Linked DNA regions of Homo sapiens: region 2 is linked to region 1. The links are contacts of gene promoters, found by promoter capture Hi-C in blood cells and fetal thymus (Javierre and others, 2016). All regions are on one chromosome and are shown on one strand. The core of a region is centred on a gene start or on the middle of the fragment in contact, and the rest is flanking DNA. Distances in the headings are between cores, read along the strand shown. Region 1 holds the start of LURAP1 (leucine rich adaptor protein 1). Region 2 overlaps NASP (nuclear autoantigenic sperm protein).

What was found. The method cuts DNA at HindIII sites, captures the fragments that hold promoters and counts their contacts. A CHiCAGO score of 5 or more calls a contact.
Region 2: a contact is called between a fragment that was not itself captured here and the fragment with the promoter of LURAP1 in region 1, in 2 of 17 cell types (M0 macrophages and M1 macrophages). The highest score is 6.2, in M0 macrophages.

Annotation. Positions count from the first base shown.
Region 1 is chr1:46,201,136-46,204,949 of GRCh38, forward strand. LURAP1 (leucine rich adaptor protein 1) reads left to right here and starts at 2,199. Exons shown (of 2, transcript NM_001013615.3): 1 at 2,199-2,489. The coding sequence starts at 2,292. It also overlaps a transcript of POMGNT1 not described here. RefSeq lists a silencer at 2,120-2,239. The HindIII fragment of the contact is 3,345 bases long and covers 1,675-3,814 here.
Region 2 is chr1:45,610,080-45,614,146 of GRCh38, forward strand. It overlaps NASP (nuclear autoantigenic sperm protein), which reads left to right. Exons shown (of 15, transcript NM_002482.4): 7 at 3,090-3,169; 8 at 4,017-4,067. Among named protein-coding and RNA genes, the nearest start is that of CCDC17, 12 kb to the right of the region's middle. The HindIII fragment of the contact is 216 bases long and covers 2,112-2,327 here.

The DNA of each region.
Region 1 (3,814 bases), core at 949-3,448:
AAAAAGACAAATGTTTTGTCTATCTCTAACTTAAAACCCTTCCATGGATCAAAAAGTACCAAGGAAAATGATGTTACTTAAAATTATAAAGGTAGGCCAGGCATGGTGGCTCATGCCTGTAATCCCAGCACTTTGGGAGGCTAAGGTGGGAGGATTGCTTGAGGCCAGGAGTTCGAGACCAGCCTGGGCAACATAGCGAGACTCTATCTAAATTTTAAAAAAAGTTAATTACAAAGGTAACCTTAGATGAACTAAAAAGAGTGATAGAAATATGTAGTGCCAGGCCGGGCGCAGTGGCTCACACCTGTAATCCCAGCACTTTGGGAGGCTGAGGCAGGCAGATCACGAGGTCAAGAGTTCGAGACCAGCCTGACCAACATGGTGAAACCCCCGTCTCTACTAAAAATACAAAAATTAGTCGGGCATGGTGGCACGTGCCTGTAATCCCAGCTACTCAGGAGGCTGAGGCAGGAGAATCGCTTGAACCCAGGAGGGCAGGTTGCAGTGAGTCAAGATCGTGCCACTGCACTCCAGCCTGGGCGACAGAGTGAGACTCCATCTCAAAAAAAAAAAAAAAAAGAAAAAAGAAAGAAAAGAAAAGAAATATATATTGCCAATGGGGGAAAGGAACTACAGAGTGTGAGTTAAACCCATATATCCATATTTATCTGAATAGGACAATAAACAGCAGATGAATGTTTAAAATTGAGAAGTAGTGTGGCTGGGCATGGTGGCATACTCCTGTAGTCACAGCTGCTTGGGAGGCAGGAGGATTGCTTGAGCCCAGGAGTTTGAGTCCAGCCTGGGCAATGTAGGAAGACCCTGTCTCTAAAAAAGAAAAAATAGTGGTAGGATTTACAATAAGAGGATAGTTACTCCTACCCTACCCTTTCACACCTCTAGGCCCACTCCCAATTGGCAACCACTTTTAGTTAACTCTAAACAATAACGTTATGGGTATGAACACCAAAAGAAAAAAAAAAACTAAAAGTTATTTTTTGCCAATTGGGAGTGGGCCTAGAGGTGTGAAAGGGTAGGGTAGGGGTAACTATCTTCTCATTGTAAATCCTTCTGCAACCATGGGCTGGAATTACTTGAATTAAAAGCCTAAACAAACCAGAGTTTTCATGGCTGTTCATTACCTGTTAAATAAAACCCAAACATCTCAGAACCATTTTCTGTAACCTTGTTACTCAAAGTGTGGTCCCTTATTACTTGAAGTGTGGACCAGCAGCATGGCCATCACCTGGGAGCTTATTAGAAATGCAGGATCTTGGCTGGGCGCAGTGGCTCACACCTGTAATCCCAGCACTTTGGGAGGCCAAGGCAGGCGGATCACTTGAAGTCAGGAGTTCAAGACCAGCCTGGCCAACATGGTGAAACCCTGTCTCTACTAAAAATACAAAAATATTAGCTGGGCATGGTGGCGCATGCCTGTAATCCCAGCTACTCAGGAGGCAGAGGCAGGAGAATTGCTTGAACCCAGGGAGGCAGAGGTTTGTAGTGAGCCAAGATCGCGCCACCACGCTACATCCTGGGCGACAGAGCGAGACTCTGTCTCAAAAAAAAAAAAAAAAAAAAAAAAAAAATGCAGGATCTCAAGCCCCACCCCAGATTTACAAAATCAGAACCTACATTTTAACAAGATCCGCAGATAATTCATACGCACAGTCAAGCTTAAGGAGCATCTTGCTTGTAAGCCCAACGTGGACCTCTTCAGCTTCAGTACTGGTTGCCCTTTTCTACTCCGTTAGCCTGAATTCTAGCCCCTGGGGGGGGGGGGTGGTGTGTGTGTGTGTGTGTGTGTGTGTGTGTGTGTGTGTCTAGCTAAAATCCAGTCATCGTTTTATACCCAATTCCTCTGCTCCAGGAAGACTTCCAAGCCCTCTGCAGCTCTCTGTTACCGCTGTTCCTTAAACTCCCACATCTCTGACTGAAGCTGCTTAGACTTCATTCTGCAAACATGTATTGGGCGCCTGCTGTGTGCCTGGCTGGATTCAGTGCCAGGGTGGGGCGAAGGCGCTGAGGTCTCCGAGTGCTCTTTCAGGTCCAACTCCAGAATCGCCCAGCCCCACGCAATCCAGGGCCAGAGGTTGTGTGCGCAGCACTCGAATACATCCACAGACGGTGCTGCGCGGCTTTTCTGAGTGTTACGGCGCCCTCCTCCCGCCCCCGCGCCGCGCGGGCGGGGACCCACCGGTTTTGCTCCGCTTTAGCAGCGGCGAAGGGAGGACCCCCGGGAGCCGGTCCCCGGCGTCCGGTCGCCCAGCCCTTTTCAGGCTTGGGCCCGCATGGAGGGGACCGTGGAGTCCCAGACGCCTGACCTGCGGGATGTGGAGGGTAAGGTGGGCAGGAAGACCCCTGAAGGGCTGCTCCGCGGGCTGCGAGGCGAGTGTGAGCTGGGAACCTCTGGCGCCCTGCTGCTCCCAGGGGCGTCTAGCACCGGCCACGACTTGGGGGACAAGATCATGGCGCTGAAGATGGAGCTGGTGAGTGCTGAATCCATGGGCCAAGGGGACGAGTCCCTAGTGTAGGGCCGGGAGGGACGAACTCATGCTCCCAGAGTTAAGCTGGAGAGGAGGTAGTTAAAACTCTCCACCTAACTGCTCAGAATCCCTCCCAGATCAATCCGTAAACGCTGGGGTGGAGATGGAGTGACGTCCATTACTTGTCCCCCAAGAGTGAGTGGGGTGTTGATGGTCCTGAGGACTTGGGTTGGGAGCAGTGGGTTTTGGAAGTTATTCCTGCCAAATAATTGGGAGGAGAGAGATGAGGACTGGGAAGTACTGAGAACCCAACGCAGCACAAATTCCCCCCGCCTGTATGGGCCACCTATTCCCCGCCAGTCCCCGTTGTAAGGCAACCGGTTTTTTCTCCTTCTGCTAACCGGGAAAGGGTTTAAGTTCCTGTGAGGCCGCAGTGTTCCGCACAGAAAAGAAGTGGGTAAAGGGGCCTATCTGCTGAAAACTACCTGGACCAGGGGCACTGAAAACCTTCTCCGTTTCCTCTACATCCCCCAGCCCTACTTAAAATAATGGAAAGTTCCTAGACCCATAGCAGGGACAGAGAGTAGCAGCACCACTGGTGCTGATTCCCTCGCCTCAGACTCAGTCTCCTCCCAGCCAGTCTTCCAGGTAAACTGGATATTTGGATCTCATCTGTACATTCTTGGGGAGAAGAGGAAACAGCAACCCTCCCCTTTCTCTATTGCTGCTGGTCTAGATTCAGAGCCAAAAGGGCAGCCGAGGCCCTGGCAGGTTCCCCAGGGCCCTGATTCCGGTGAAGTGGGTGATTTACACCTGCCACTACTTTGCAGCCAGTTCTGGGGAACTGAGGAATTGCCATCGGCTTCCTGGCTCACAACCAGGAGCCCACAGTGAGTACGTCAGCTAAAGTCTTCCTGTGTGCCCAGCCTGTGCCAAGCTGGTCTGTGAAGGAGAAGGGGAAGGAAATCATGGGGGCTCTGAGACCAGCCAGGGCTCCGACGCCTGAGCTGAGAGGCTGGGAAGAGAGTCTGGTGGGTGGAGCAGTCAGGAAAGGCCCCCTGGGAGAAGGACTTGAATGCCAAGTGTGCACTTGGCCTTGAAGGTTGGAGGTGAGTGCCCAATTCTCCAGAGCAAGGCTGTGACTGTACCCACCTAAGCGGGGGCTTGCCTTTGCCTCACTGTACAAACTTTAGCTCAAGGCCTAGTAAGAGCCTATCTAGACTGTCTACTTGCTTTGAAAACTTTCACCCAGTGCATGTGCCAGGCAGCTTGCTGAGCACTTTACATGATGCTCTCTTCATCTCCACAGTAACCCTGTTAAGTGATAT
Region 2 (4,067 bases), core at 970-3,469, 590 kb before region 1:
TCCCAGCTACTTGGGAGGCTGAACCAGAAGAATCGCTTGAACCCGGGAGGCAGAGGTTGCAGTGAGCTGAGATCATGCCGCTGTGCTCCAGCCTGGGCAACACAGCGAGTCTCTGTCTTCCAAAAGAAAAAAAAAATCTGTCACTTATTTAAAAAGTTAACTATATTTTAAAAGCCCCAGGCTTTTCATATGCTGCATTTTTTGGTGTTGTATATCAGATACTGTTCTGCTTGTAAAGACAATACAGTTTTCCATATTTTACAAAAGAAGAAATGGGAGAAAGGGGTTTAAGTAACTTGCCCTAGTCACACAGTAAGGAGAAGCCTGCTACCCAAACTTCTGGCTTGAGTACTCAACCACTTACTTTCTGTGCTTTATTTCCCTTTACGTGGCAGCACCATTCTGCAGAAAACTTCCAAGCAGTTTTTTTCACTTAAAAATTAAAACCCTGTTTACTGCCACCTCTTGACTCTTTGCCATGTGTTGGGCTGTACATTTGCTTCTAATAAAGATAATTGGTCTGTTCTTTTTCTCTTTGAATCGGGTCTTGCTCTTTTGCCAGGCTGGAGTACAGTGGCATCGCAGTCATGGCTCACGACAGCCTCAAACTCCTATGCTGAAGCCATCTTCCTCCCTCAGTCTCTCAGGCAGCTGAGACTATGGGTGTGTATCACCATGCCCAGCTGGGGTGCAGTGGTGCGGTCTCGCTCACTGCAACCTGCATCTCCCAGGTTCAAGCGATTCTCCTACGTCAGCCTCCTGAGTAGCTGGGACTAAAGGCACATGTCCCCAGGCCCGACTAATTTTTTTGTATTTTTACTAGAGATGGGATTTCACCATGCTGGCCAGGTTGGTCTCGAACTCCTGACCTCAGGTGATCCACTAGCCTCAGCCTCCCAGAGTGCTGGGATTACAGGTGTGAACCATTGCACCTGGCCCACCATACACCATTATCTTCTCATATCCACATTTCCAAGTGGGTCCGGGCTTAGTTCCCCAAAGTTAGACCAGATGGATGGTCTTATTAACTCTGCCCATCCTCTAGCAGAATATGCAGAAAAGCTGAAGTAGATTTACATATGTAGGATAATTGATAGAAAAGTAAATACTTCATCTTCCCAATTTGTAGGAAAAATTAAATTGATATTGTTATCTTCTATTCTTACCTGGTATCTCTTCCTACTCATACCAGAATACTAGAAGACAACCTCTAATTTGAAACAAAATATCTTAATTACTTGGAAGTTTTACATCAAATTTTTAAATTAAAATTCCTATAATTGCTTCAGAAGAATATTACTGGTTCCTCTTGAGGAATCTGTACCATCTTCAAGGAATGGTGGGGAGCTAGGTTAAGGAGAAAGCCATCGCCATTACTTTTTTTTTTTTTTTTTTTTTTTTTTTTGAGACAGAGTCTTGCTCTGTCACCCAGGCTGGAATGCAGTGGCGTGATCTAGGCTCACTGCAACCTCCGCCTCCTAGGTTCAAGTGATTGTTCTGCCTCCGCCTCCCGAGTAGCTGGGACTACAGGCATGTGCCACCACGCCTGGCTAATTTTTTGTATTTTTAGTAGAGACGGGGTTTCACCGTGTTAGCCAGGATGGTCCCAATCTCCTGACCTGGTGATCTGCCCACCTTGGCCTCCCAAAGTGCTAGGATTACAGGTGTGAGCCACCGCGCCTGGCAGCCATTGCCATTACTTTAAAACCTTTCCCAACTTGTGCCCAGGTATCAATGGCAATGCCCTGATGTCCTCAGTAAATTTGTTAAAGTATCTTTTTTTTTTTTTTTTTTTTTTGAGACGGAGTCTTGCTCTGTCACCCAGGCTGGAGTGCAGTGGTGCGATAATCCGCTCACTGCAAGCTCCACCTCCTGGGTTCACGCCATGCTCCTGCCTCAGCCTCCCAAGTAGCTGGGACTACATGCGCCTGCCACCACACCTGGCTAATTTTTTTGTTTTTTGGTTTTTTTTTTTAGTAGAGACGGGGTTTCACCATGTTCGCCAGGATGGTCTCAATCTCCTGACCTCGTGATCCGCCCGCCTCGGCCTCCCAAAGAGCTGGGATTACAGGCGTGAGTCACCGCGCCTGACCCTGTTAAAGTATTTTCTAAGCTTCTTTGAAAACGGAATCTCTTTGTGGTTGCTGCTGATAAAACTCCTTTGACCTGACGATTGCTCTAAGTCCTAATTGCCATATTTATATTCCCATAGTAAGAGTGTTTGGAGATAGTGTTTGAGCTTTTTTGCTGGTGTTAAAAATGCATAATGAAAGATGGCAGAGAGAGGCATATTATATCCAATTCATGAGTTGTTTGTGTTAACAGAAAGCTTATTTTAATCACTTAACATTGTTGATTTGTCTAATCACAGTAGCGCTATTGATTAGGAGCCTGACCTTTAGATGGTTGACTTGTGAGTGTATTCAATATGGTGAAATATGGTGTTGATATATGGCTGCAGATTTTAGAGGTGTCATTAGCAAAGGTATAGGAGTAAAATAGGGGTTATAGTATTCCTTACTCAAATTCTGTATGTGCTAGAGCTGGCTGGAGTCTGTGGCATGCTCATTGGTGTAAGTCGGTAAGGACTATGCTTTTTGCTCCACATCTCTGTTGTGGGAAAGCTAGTCTCTTGAGCATTCTTGATCAGAATGGACTGGAATAATTTAACTTTCGTACTTTCCCAGGCTATTAGTATTATCTAATGAGTGGCTTAAAGATACCAGAAACACTGACTGAGGTCTCCACCTGCTTCTGGCTGAATGAATGGGAGCTTCTAGCCATTGAATAAGAGGCAGTAGCCAATGTTTCTTATTCTGAATGGTCCAGGTTGACTTTTATAAGAGAAACACTCAGCCTTTTAATTGCTGAAGGTCTGACCCATAGACTAAGATTGCACATTCTTAGTCTAGGTTACACTTGAACTAGACTGCACCCACTGACGATATATTCAGTTCAGGTGTTAACTCACTTGGATTAGCATCTGGCCTGTCCTATCTGAATATAGGTTGAGACGTGTATTGGAATCTCTGACTAGTCAGAATACGTTCTTAGTTATATTCTCAATACTGAGGAATTTTTACTTGTAGAAACTGAAGGCTCAGAAGAGGATGATAAAGAAAATGATAAGACCGAAGAAATGCCAAATGATTCAGTCCTTGAAAACAAGGTATGTTGTTAGCCACTCAGTACTGTTGTCAGCCTTTTTCTGTTTTTGGGAGACTGGAGCTCACTCTTGTTGCCTAGGCTGGATTGCAGTGGGGTGATCATGATCATGGCTCACTGCAGCCTAGACCCGGGCTTAAGTGATCGCCTCACCTCAGCCTCTCAAGTAGCTGGGACTACAGGCTTGTGCCAACATGCCCAGCTAGTTTGCAGGACTGTAGCTTACCTAGTTTAGGCACGATTATTATTTTTTTAAGAGATAGAATCTCTGTCTCTGCCCAGGCCGGAGTGCACTGGCATGATCAGGGCTCACTGTATCTTTAGCCTCCTGGGTTCAAGGAATCCTTCTGCCTCATCTTCTCAGATAGCTAGGTCTCCAGATGTCTGCCACCATGTCTGGCTAATTTGTTCTCTAATTTTATTTTGTTTAGACGGCTGTCTTGCTGTGCTGCCCAGGCTGGTCTCAAACCTGGCTTCAAGTTATTCTCCTGCCTCAGCCTCCCAAAGTGTTGGGATTATAGGCATAACCCACCATGCCCAGCCCTAGGCATGATTATTATAGATAACTGTCTCTTGATTATGGATTAGGGACCCTTTATTCATGCCTAGGATGGGTGGATATATTTGATCCTGGGGTTCTTGTGTGTTAGTATGTGAGCCAACATTTCACTGTTAAAATATCAGTGACATGGTCATGACTTAAGACAGTATGTGGACCCATTCTCTAGATTTTAGGGAGAAAGTCCAAATTTTGAATCGTATATCAACTTTTTTTAAGCTACGCTAAGTTATACATTTAGATTTGTATTTGAAAAAGATGCCTATCTTTTTATTATTTGGTTATACTTTAGTCTCTTCAAGAAAATGAGGAGGAGGAGATTGGGAACCTAGAGCTTGCCTGG